Linked DNA regions of Homo sapiens: regions 1 and 3 are each linked to region 2. The links are contacts of gene promoters, found by promoter capture Hi-C in blood cells and fetal thymus (Javierre and others, 2016). All regions are on one chromosome and are shown on one strand. The core of a region is centred on a gene start or on the middle of the fragment in contact, and the rest is flanking DNA. Distances in the headings are between cores, read along the strand shown. Region 1 overlaps PADI6 (peptidyl arginine deiminase 6). Region 2 holds the start of PADI4 (peptidyl arginine deiminase 4). Region 3 overlaps PADI6 (peptidyl arginine deiminase 6).

Region 1 (3,667 bases), core at 1,090-3,589, 67 kb after region 2:
AAGGGCCTTGGCCTCTCTGTTCCCCTATCTGTGAAACCATGGGGACGCTGGCCTCGGGGGGCTGTGAGGAGCAGGCCAGGGAGACTGCTAGATGCTGGAGCCTGCAGGTGGAGGTGACTCAGCAGGGTCACAGTACAACTTCCTGAGTCGCTTGCCCTGATCTTTTTCTTTATGGGGATCCTTTGTGGCTCCCCCCTTCTTGGGAATTGGGTGCTTATTACTAAGATGTAGCTGTGGTAACTTCTGCAGTGTCGGTAGCGGGATGGGGTTTGGGCTGGAGCCCGTCGGAGAGCAAACACAGGGGTCCTTTGGGAGGGGGTGGGTAGGAATAAGGACCCCAGACCACTCTGCCTCAACACCCTAAGGAGAATGAGGATTCGGGAGCCGTCCCCTCCCCCATGCCAGTCATCTCCTAGGCTGAGAAGGTGTTTGTGCCCTGACGCGTGTCTCTTACCGGGCAAACCAGGTGTGCCCCCCAGAAGTGCCAGTGCTTCACCATCCATGGCTCTGGGAGGGTCTTGATCGATGTGGCCAACACGGTGATTTCTGAGAAGGAGGACGCCACCATCTGGTGGCCCCTGTCTGATCCCACGTACGCCACAGTGAAGATGACATCGCCCAGCCCTTCCGTGGATGCGGATAAGGTAAGCCTCAGGGGAAGAGGTGAGGGGCATCTCCCGGGGTGGGACCTAGCACAGCCACTGGGGCTTCCTCCTGGCTGCAGACGTGACTCGAGCCTGGGAAACACGTTGTTTTGCACGTCTGATCTCATCCAGTGTCTGCAACAGACCAGTGGTGTGGGCACTCCATGACCCCATTTTACAAAGAAACAGAGGCACCTAGCGAAGGTGCCCTGCCAAGTCAGCAACCAGCAGGACTGGGATTTATTTTTTATTTTCATTTATTTATTATTATTTTTTTTTTTGAGTCTCACGCTCATTGCCCAGACTGGGGTGCAATGGCACAATCTCAGCTCACTGCAACCTCCACTTCCCGGGTTCAAGCAATTCTCCTGCCTCAGCTTCCCGAGTAGCTGGGACTACAGGCACCCACCACCATGCCCGGCTAATTTTGTATTTTTAGTATGAGACAGGGTTTCACTATGTTGGCCAGGCTGGTCTCAAACTCCTGACTTCAAGTGATCTACCTGCCTCCACCTCCCAAAGTGCTGGGATTACAGGCATGAGCCACCACACCTGGCCTACCATCACTTTACATATGAGGAAACTAAGGCACAGAGTGCTGTGTCTAAACCTAAGTAGCCTACCTAGAGTGGGATAGACCCAGGATTTGAGCTTGAGCCCAAGGGTGTATTCTCCCCTGGGTAAGCTGTCTCCCTAATGGGGTGCCTATGTTGGGGAGGTTCTCCTGTGGTAGAAGCAGGTGGCTCATTCAGGGCAGGAGTGTTCAACCTTGGTTGCAGGTGAGAACCACTGGGGAGCTAATAACATCAATACCCAGGCCACACCCCCTCTACCAATTAAACCTGAGGTACCAATGGAACCTCAGGGCTAGGATCCTGGCCGCTGGTTTAAAGCTCTCCAGGTGCACCCAGTGCGGGGCTGGGGGTGAGAACCATGATGGAGCAGTTCAGGACTGGGAGAGCTCTCCCTCCCTCCCCCCACACCCTACAGGACCTACTGGAGATGTCTGCTGCAGAGGGGTAGGTACACACACCCACCTGCGCTGTGTGCCCAGGGCAGGCAACTCCCTGAGAGGCAAGTAGTGGACTTAGGTAGGAACTGAGTGTCTCTGGCCAGGTGTGGTGGCTCATGCCTGTAATCCCAGCACTTTGGAAGGCTGAGATGGGCAGATCACCTGAGGTCGGGAGTTTGAGACCAGCCTGGCCAACATGGTGAAACGCTGTCTCTACTAAAAATACAAAAATTAGCCAGGTGTGGTGGCAGGTGCCTGTAATCTCAGGTTCTCAGGAGGCTGAGGCTGGAGAATCGCTTGAACCCAGGAGGTGGAGGTTGTAGTAAGCTGAGATTGTCCCACTGCATTACAGCCTGGGCAACAAGAACAAAACTCCATCGCAAAAAAAGGTATCTCAGATAAGAATGGAGGCCACGGTGGGTGCCAGTGGAACTCCAGACTACCTGAGAACCATTCTCTGCCCAGGGCTCGGCCTCCAGGACCCTCAGGAGTGGCCAACAAAGAACCTTGAACTTAGAGGACTAAAGCTTCTATTTAAGGATGGGGTGGATCTGTCACATGCTCTGGCCAATGGTTGGGTCTCTGGTTCATGACCAAGACCTTGTGGTCAGGGTCAGTGGCTGGAGGGCAGGTCTCTTTCTAAAAGCATAAAGTAGAGGCTGGTGTGGGACACAGTCCCACAGTTGGGACTGAGTCCCAACGCTGCTTCTTCACCTGGGTGTCCTTCTTAGTGAGCAGCTTAAGCCACCAGAGGCCTGTTTCCCCACCGTGCACCTTATGGAGTAGGACATGGGACCCCAGGAGAGTGGGTTTAGCAGGGAGGATGTATAGTGTGGTTTCAAGCTTGGGCTCTAGAGCCAGGCAGCCTGTTTCTTAAATCCCTTTGGGATAAGTCCCTTGATCACCCCGCCATCAGGGATACAGCTCTCACGTGGACAGGTGGTTTCAAGCCTGGCTCTCGACAAGGTTAGGGTTGGGGGTCATGGCAGGTTCTAAGTCCTTAGGGGACTGACTCAGCCCTAAGCGCAGGGCTGTGGCCCCATACCAGCTCATAGGTGAGACTTCAGAAGCCATAACACAAGACCAAGATCCCACGCCTAGACTCGGCACATGGCCTGGGGCTCTGTTCCTGGCACCTCCCGTCCAACACTGCCTATGGTTTCGGGATGCTGTCTCCACAGGTCTCGGTCACATACTATGGGCCCAACGAGGATGCCCCCGTGGGCACAGCTGTGCTGTACCTCACTGGCATTGGTGAGTGTTGCTCCAACTGGGAGCCTGGGGCCCAACTCACCGCTGGGGTTGGGGAAGGGGTGGGATTGTAGGAGGAGCCAAAAAAGATTCTCCAGGTAACAAGATGCCTCCTGTGGGCCCCAGGAACTCCTGAACAAACTCCTAAATGGATTCATTTGAGATACCCACTCACACACTCCCTCCTCGACGCTCAGTCACTTCTCCATCTTCGTGCACTGCCAACCTAATTCTGAGAATAGAAACAGCCAGAACTTCCGTGTCGCTGCCATCTACCCACCTACGCCTGTCTAGTGCCTACCTTCTTCCTTTGTTACTAATTGACGCATCTGGTCCAAAGTTAGTCTTTCTTGTCTCACTAGATCCTTTCTTATTCAAGAACATTCCTTTGTCAATTCTTACCAATGTAAGAAGCCGCCACCCTTCCCCGCCCTCTAGATCACCCCCATCAGCTCAGGAACAAGCTCTATAACATCTACTTTTTTTTTCTTTTTTTTCTGAGATGAGTCTTACTGTCACTCAGGCTGGAGTACAGTGGCATGATCTCGGCTCACTGTAACCTCTGCCTCCCAGGTTCAAGTGATTCTCCTACCTCAGCCTCCAGATTAGCTGGGACTATAGGTGTGTGCCACCATGCCTGGCTAATTTTTATATTTTTAGTAGAGACAGGTTTTCACCATGTTGGCCAGGCTGGTCTCGAACTCCTGACCTCGCGATCCACCTGCCTCGGCCTCCCCAAGTGCTGGGATTACAAGCGTGA
Region 2 (4,261 bases), core at 1,149-3,648:
GTCTGTTCTCACATCACAGCCAGAGTGATCACGTTCAAGCAAGTTGGTTCGCGGTCCTTCTCTGCTCAAAATGACTCCAGGCTCCCCACGTTACTTGGAGCAGAGGCCAAAGCTCTTAGGATGCCCGAAAGGCCCTATATGATCGCACCCCGCCCTGGGCTGCTCTCCCCCTCCCTCACTGCATTTCAGCCACACTGGCCTCTTTGCTCTTTCTTGAACCCGCCAGGCATGTCCCTGCCTCAGGGCCTTTGTACCGATTGCACTGGCTGTTCTCTTGACTTGGAACCTTCTCCCTGTGTTCCTGGTAGCCTTTACCCTGTCCTTTTTCCTTTTTCTACCCCACTAACATACGATAGAATCCACTTACTGCATTTATTGCTTACTGGCTGTCTCTCTCCCAACAAAAACAAACAAACAAAAAGGCTCTATGAAGGCAGGATTTTTGTCCACTTTGTTCACAGCGTATCCACGGTGCCTGGAACAGTGCCTGGCCATCAATAGGCACTCAGTCAGTATTTGTTGAATTAACAAAACTGCTTTGGGGCTCGTCCTCTTTGTGGCTCGTTCACAGCAAATTTAAACCCCAAACTGCTGAAGAAAATAAGAAAGAAAAGAAGGAACAGAAGAAAACAACCTCAAGAGACCTAAGACTTGGGGTAGAGGCCAGCCCTCCCTCTGATTTGCTGTGTGACCGTGGGCAGGTCCCACTCCCTTTCTGTGCTTCAGTCTCCCCTTCTGCAAAACGAGGACTGGATTGGGTGTTCTCTAAGGGCCCTCCCAACTCTAACAATGGACAGCTCCCTCCTGCCACTTCCCAGTAGAAGCTCAAACTAGTTCTAATCATGCGGTCAGCCAGAGAAATTGGGTTTATTAACACTGTGTGCAGGCAGTCATGTAGATGCGTCAGAACGTCGGACCTGGCCACATCATCATCTGCTGGTACAGAAGATAAATTTTGAGCCCAGAGAAGGTGGTCTGAATCCAGATCCCCACTGTAGGGCTTATGAGACCTTGGGGGTCTCACTCAATCTCTCTAAGTCTTTGTGGTCTCATCTACACATGGGCATCCTGATAGGACGCACTCCATAGGGATGTTGAGATGAGGCAGGATTTGAACTAAAGCCTGTTTGATCCCACAGCCTGACTCTGAATTAATGAGGCAAATTCTTTGCTTCAAAGCCAAAGCAAGCAAACAAAAAACAAACGCAAGATATCCAACCCACGAAACGCTCTATGTTCACGCCAGACTCCCATGCATGCACCCTTTGAGTGCTCCTTGTTGGGACCCATCCACCACCCCCCAGTTGCCTCATTAAAGGCAGAGCCTGGCACCAATGGCCCAGGTGCAACCACAGCTCTGAGGCCACATGGGCATCCCCCTGGCAGGCGTGGCCCACACCTGCACTGTCTGGTCTGACACCCAGAGGCCCTGGCAAGAGGCAGGTATCCTGGAGCATGCAGAGAACATCAACTTCCATGCCAGGAAGCTCATCTTCTCTTCCCAGCTCTGCCGCATTCTAGCTCTGGCACCTTGGGCAAGAGCTAGTCACTTTTACTCTCTGAGCCTCAATTTTCCTTCTGTAAAATGGGTTGTAATAATAAGCCCATATACACCTTGTATTGTAGCGAGATGTAGCTGTGATACAGTCTGGAAAGCACGTGTCATATAGACAGGCAGCTAATGAATCTCACACTCTGGAACTGGACACCTTTGGTTCCAATTCTGGCCCTACCACTCTCGAGCTGTGGAAGAACTGCACCTCTGTTTTCTCCTCTGTAAAATGGGTATAATAATGGCACCAACCTCAGAGGGCTGCTGTGAGGGTGAAATAAGGGGATAATGGTATGATCTAGTTCACGGGTTTGTCGTAATGAGCTATTCTATGTGAAGTGCAGGAAAACGTGCCTGGCATAGAGAATGTGAGCTGTCATGTGGGTGGCCCAGGTGGAGAGACTTGTCCCAAGCCTGGTTGGTCTTTGAACGTGTAGCCTGGCCTGTGACTGCTTACCTAAAATCTCCCCGCTTTTCCCACCTTCTCCTCTCTGATATGCCTGTTTGACATAGGTGAGATTGGATAGATCAAGGTGTTCAGGGCCTCTAGGCAGGGATGGGACTGTGGGCATGAGGACCAGGACCCAACCCCTCAGCCCCACTCTCCACCCCAGGCTTTCTGAGCCATCCATCCTTCCCAAGAAACTGACAGAGCCACCCTGCCACTGGTACCAGCATTGACACCCATCTAGAGGTCCGAGGGGCAGCCCCAGGGCAGAGGAGATTTTGAGAGCCCACACCCCTGACCTGAGTGGGGAGGGGTTGAGCCTCTGGGCCACAGACCGCAGGTGCTGACTCATGGCCTCTGCTGGGCGATATAAAGGAACCAGCCCAGGGGCTTCCTACAGCCAGAGGGACGAGCTAGCCCGACGATGGCCCAGGGGACATTGATCCGTGTGACCCCAGAGCAGCCCACCCATGCCGTGTGTGTGCTGGGCACCTTGACTCAGCTTGACATCTGCAGGTAAGAGGGGGGCCTTCTGGGGTTTTGGAGGCAGGTCAGGAGATGCTGGATGACCCAGTTCTACTGACACAGGAGCATGTGTTTGGCCCAGGCTCTAGGCTCCAGCCTCTGCAGCCACTGCCAGGGGAGTAGCTGGAGAGAGAAGACCCCAGCAGCCCTGGGAAGTGCCAGTCTCATGGCTGTGGGTTCTTTGCCATGTACAAGTGCAAATTCCCCAGGAACACACGACAGATAAATTATTATGGGGCAAACCAGGCCATCCATCTCCCTGTCTTCATCGAGGCAACAGAAGCTTACAGAGAGTCTGTGACTTGCTCAAGGTCACACAGCACGTGTGCCCTGGAAGTAAGGTTAGCCCCTGGGCCTCCTGGTTCACAGCACAGTTTGTTACCCCACATCTCTTAGCTAAGCCTCCCTCAGTGGGTGCATAATAGCGTGGGTGGGGATGGCGAAACGGGGCTCTGTGGCGGCAGAGACTGAGGTAGGAAGCCTGGACCTGCTGCTGGCTAGCAAGGAGGCCTTGGGCAACTGAGCCTCAGTTGCCTCATCTGTGAAATGGGGATAATACTCACATCATGGGCTGGTTATAGGAATTCAATGTGAAAAAATGTGCAGATGTTGGCTGAGTACTTAGCACAGTGGTGGGCCCATCCTTGGTAGTTTTTATTTACTCATTTAACAAATGCTGAGTGCCATGCTCTGTGGCAGGGTCTGGGTTAAACAAGAGAGTTGAGGAATGCTCTCGGGGAGTGTGCAGGGTCATTGTTGTTATTGTAGAACAGGAATTAAAAGAAATTTTAAAACGTGTAAGCAAAAACTCAGTTCTATGTTAAAAAAAAAAAAAACAATTTTCCCTGGAAAAAAAAAAAAAAAAGAGCTGGAGTCCCTTAAAAATTAACTGCCTGTTTTTTTGTGGCTAGTGAGCCTTATTGCTCCTCTTTTTCCAGGCATTGTAAAGACCCTGTTTCTCCAGCTGTGCAGCTGCAAGGTCACTAGACAGATAAACTCAAGCTGTAAAAATTTTTTTCCTTAAAAAGTAAAAAATAATATAATGCATGTCTCAATTAAATAACTGTCTTTGTTTCTTGCCTCTATAATATGCTTCCCCCTGCACAGATCTACCCCCGCCCCATGAAATGCTTAAAAGATAACTTAACTCTTTGTTCAGGGCTCAGTCTTTTGAAATGTTAGCCTGACTGAGCCAGTGAATCTAAATAATAAATCCTCCTCAACCCCTCGGTCTCTCTGATTCCTAAATTATCCTGCAACAATTGCTGTTGTCAGGAATAGGAGTGGTTGCCCCTGGCTTCCCCATCCCAGTCTGGGCATCGGTGGCCCTAGAATGGTGCCCACAGGAGTGCCGGGGACATTTCTTTGCTACTGCCTGAGCCCCAGCAGCCAGAGAACAGCAGGAAATGTCGGGATGGTCTCCCAGGGCCACATGGTGGAGGCAGGAGACCAAGAAGTTGGGGAGAAAAGGAAAAAGAAAATCACCTGACATCATCTGAGGCGCCCCCAACTCCTCTGAGAATGGGTGTGAAGGAAATGACAGGAGCTGAAGCTAGCCCAGGGCCTCTCCCAGCATGCCCAGGCTAGCCCTCTACCCAGCGTCCATGAGTAGTAATCAAGATCACAAGTGCTTCCTCTGGCCCTAGAGAGGTGGGTGGACAGCTGGTCAGTGTTGGGCAGAGAGGAAGGCACTGCCCATTTCTCCCAGAAAGGATGGGGACTCCGGAGTTCACAGG
Region 3 (3,725 bases), core at 1,210-3,709, 92 kb after region 2:
GCCCTATAAAGTAAAACACCTCTTACATATGAGGGTAGTGAGGCACACAGTAAAACCGCTAGCCCAGGACAATCATTTGGGAAAATGAGTCTGAACTCCCAAGTTCATGTGTTGCTCATTATACTCAAGCTGCCTGGGGTCCATTTCCCGGAAAATGACATAGCTCCGCAGCCTCCTTGAAGAAGCCGGCTCCTCACTTCCGAGAAGCTGAGTATCAGACTCAAATAGACGAGGGACTACTCAATGCTTTCTGGATGAAGTGGCCCATCACAGCAGTCCCGAGGATGGTGTTCAGGGTCACCAAACTTCAGAGATCTTAGAAGTGAATCATTGGCTATAAGAAGCAGAGTCTCCCCAACTTGTAGAAGGAGAAGCTTAGGCCCAGAGAAGGGTAATTTCTTGGCTGAGGTTGCATGGTCAGCAAAACTGCTTCTCTCACTGGGTCCTTAACATTCCCAGGAATGTTCCCAAGGAATGTTCTATGCCCCGCACAGTGCATGGGTACCCTGTTTTGCAAGAACAGCCCCCCTGGCATAGCAGGGTGGGTGCCAGCCAGGCATGGGGCTGAGACAGCATCTCCCAGCCCCTGGCGACAGCTTAGGTGTGTTGGGTATGTGTCTGAAGCCTATTTCAAGACCTAGGGAGACAGGTGTGTTGGGTTATGTCTGAAGCCTATTTCAAGACCTAGGGAGATGCCTGGGTATTGGGCTCAGCTGGTCTGGGTTGAGAAGTGCCAGACGCTGTCTAGCCATGGGATCCTGGACTAAAGACTAGGCCATTCCTGAGCCCCTACTTCCCCATGTGAAAAGGGAACTGCCTATTTCGTAAGGCTGGTATGAAGTGTGAGGCTCCTGGCACACAGCAAGTGATGGGGATGGTAGTGGTGTCAGGCCATCACCTACCTTCAGTATGGAAGGAAACTGGTTTTAATTCCTGATGAGCTCTCCTTGCTCCCCCGCCCCCCCCCCCACCCACCCACCCACCCACAGAAGTGCATTCACCTGAACCGTGACATCCTGAAGACGGAGCTGGGCCTGGTGGAACAGGACATCATCGAGATTCCCCAGCTGTTCTGCTTGGAGAAGCTGACTAACATCCCCTCTGACCAGCAGCCCAAGAGGTCCTTTGCGAGGCCATACTTCCCTGACCTGGTGAGGGGCGACTGCGCATCCCTGGGTGGGGGAGGGCCTGTCCAGGCAACACTGGCTGCCACCTCACTGTGCTGGACTGCAGATATGGTGGACAGCAGATAACGGTACCTATGAGGAAATGGGAGGGAGACCCCTTCTCCCCCATCTCGGTTAGGGACGCCCCACCCAGAGAGCAAGTGTACAGGGCCTGAAGGCTTGGAGGTTCCCCAGGCAGTTACTATGGGCCAGGCCCTGGGCCAGGTGCTTTAGGAGCCTCAGTGAGCTGCGCCCCCAGTCTAAAAGGGTGAACCTGTGAGGCCCACTTCGGATGGGGTGCTATGCAACCCAGAGTCGAGGTTGCCGCGCATCTGCCAGCAGCGAGGCCTTGAGCAACCTACCTCAGGGTGGGTCTTCCTGTCCGCTATCTCCAGGGTCCAGGGCAGCAGTGTCTGATACATAGAGGTACATCAGCCCTTAAAATAACATTCTAGGCCAGGCGCAGTGGCTCATGCCTGTAATCCCAACACTTTGGGAGGCCGAGGCAGGTGGATCACCTGAGGTCAGGAGTTTGAGACCAGCCTGACCAACATGAAGAAACCCTGTCTCTAAAAATACAAAATTAGTTGGGTGTGGTAGCACATGCCTGTAATCCCAGCTACTCAGGAGGCAGAGACAGGAGAATTGCTTGAACCCCGGAGACAGAGGTTGCATTGAGCCTAGATCACTCCATTGCACTCCAGCCTGGGCAACAAGACTGAAACTCCGTCTCTAATATTTATTCTGCTTGGCTGGTCGTGGTGGCTCACCTGTAGTTCTAGTACGTTGGGAGGCTGAGGTGGGAAGATCACTTGAACTCAGGAGTTGGAGAGCAGCTAGGGCAACATAGTGAGACCCTGCAACTTTAAAAAAAAGAAAAAAAAAATGCTGGGGCCAGGGTGCAGTGGCTCATGCCCGTAATCTCAGCACTTTGGGAGGCTGAGGTGGGTGGATCACTTGAAGTCTGAAGTTCGAGATCAGCCCTGCAAACATGGTTGAAACTCTCTAGTAAGAATACAAAAAACTAGCTGGGTGTGGTGGTGCATGCCTATAATCCCAGCTAATCAGAGGCTGAAGCAGGAGGATCCCTTGAACCCAGGAGGCAGAGGTTGCAGTGAGCCAAGATTGCACCACTGGACTCCAGCCTGGGCAACAGCAAGACTGTCTCCCAAAAAAACAAACAAAACAAAACAAAAAATGCTGGGTGTGGTGCCACATGCCTGTAGTCTCAGCCACTCAGGAGGCTGAGGCAGGACAATTTCTTGAGCCCCGGAGGTGGAGGCTACAATGAGCCACTGCACTCTAGCCTGGGTAACAAACCAAGACCTTGTCTGATAAACCAAACCAAAAAAAAAAAAAAACATTCTGGGGCTGGGCGTGGTGTCTTACACCTGTAATCCCAGCACTTTGGGAGGCCCAGGCAGGCAGATCACTTGAGGTCAGGACTGCGAGACCAGCCTTACATGGAGAAACTGTCTTTACCAAAAATACAAAATTAGCCAGGTGTAGTGGTGCATGCCTGTCATCCCAGCTACTCAGGAGGCTGAGGCAGGAGAATCGCTTGAACCTGGGAGGTGGAGGTTGCAGTGAGCGGAGATCACCCTGTTGCACTCCAGCCTGGGCAACAAGAGCAAAACTGTTTTGTTTTTTTGTTTGTTTGTTTTTGTTTTTTAAATTCTGTTCCTACTTATTCTAAACCAGAAGTTATAGTCAAGAGTGGGGCTGTGAGTACAAGAGGTCCTGGCTTCACCAAGCCTATGCCGACTGTGGCTCACATCTGAACTTTCTCATGTAACAACTGACCCCTTATATAGGTGTGTAAAATGAACTGAGGCATTTGAGTGCCCCAATTCTCTAAACACCTGCTGACCTCTTCCCTGGGTCCTAGGGACACAGGCCCTGCATGCTCCAATTGTACATGGGTGTCTTCTAACTTGATCAGCTCAGTGTGGTCCGGCAGGGGTGAGTAACGGTAAGAAGCTGCTTTGAGGAGGAGTTGAGATACAAAAGATGCGCAGCAGTCAACTGACAAAGCGGGGGTGGGGAGAGTGTTTCAGTGGAGGCAGCAGCCATGTGTTGTATCCAGGTGACAAGAGGCCAGAATAATCGAAACGTAGAAACTAGAGAAGTTGACAATCCCAGACCTTGGCCAGGCAGGATTTTATCTGGCTGTTGAGAAACAGCCATTGTAGGGCTAAGCAAAAGTGAGCTGGGTTTCACTGACCTGGAGGAGGCGGCTGCCTGCCTGCTACGCCTGGTCTGACCGCAGAGAGGCAGGTGGGCGGCTGGCTTTCAGGCCTCTGATCCCTGTCCAGGCCTCACCCACCCTGTCTTTCTAACAGTTGCGGATGATTGTGATGGGCAAGAACCTGGGGATCCCCAAGCCTTTTGGGCCCCAAATCAAGGGGACCTGCTGCCTGGAAGAAAAGATTTGCTGCTTGCTGGAGCCCCTGGGCTTCAAGTGCACCTTCATCAATGACTTTGACTGTTACCTGACAGAGGTCGGAGACATCTGTGCCTGTGCCAACATCCGCCGGGTGCCCTTTGCCTTCAAATGGT

The links. The method cuts DNA at HindIII sites, captures the fragments that hold promoters and counts their contacts. A CHiCAGO score of 5 or more calls a contact.
Region 1: a contact is called between a fragment that was not itself captured here and the fragment with the promoter of PADI4 in region 2, in 2 of 17 cell types (megakaryocytes and M1 macrophages). The highest score is 6.0, in megakaryocytes.
Region 3: a contact is called between a fragment that was not itself captured here and the fragment with the promoter of PADI4 in region 2, in 4 of 17 cell types (megakaryocytes, M1 macrophages, neutrophils and 1 more). The highest score is 8.9, in megakaryocytes.

The regions. Positions count from the first base shown.
Region 1 is chr1:17,372,590-17,376,256 of GRCh38, forward strand. PADI6 (peptidyl arginine deiminase 6) reads left to right here. Exons shown (of 16, transcript NM_207421.4): 2 at 467-644; 3 at 2,838-2,910. Among named protein-coding and RNA genes, the nearest start is that of PADI6, 2.2 kb to the left of the region's middle. The HindIII fragment of the contact is 316 bases long and covers 2,182-2,497 here.
Region 2 is chr1:17,305,799-17,310,059 of GRCh38, forward strand. PADI4 (peptidyl arginine deiminase 4) reads left to right here and starts at 2,399. Exons shown (of 16, transcript NM_012387.3): 1 at 2,399-2,516. The coding sequence starts at 2,425. The HindIII fragment of the contact is 10,543 bases long and covers 1-2,806 here.
Region 3 is chr1:17,397,697-17,401,421 of GRCh38, forward strand. It overlaps PADI6 (peptidyl arginine deiminase 6), which reads left to right. Exons shown (of 16, transcript NM_207421.4): 15 at 990-1,151; 16 at 3,509-3,725. Among named protein-coding and RNA genes, the nearest start is that of PADI6, 27 kb to the left of the region's middle. RefSeq lists an enhancer at 3,139-3,725. The HindIII fragment of the contact is 4,174 bases long and covers 373-3,725 here.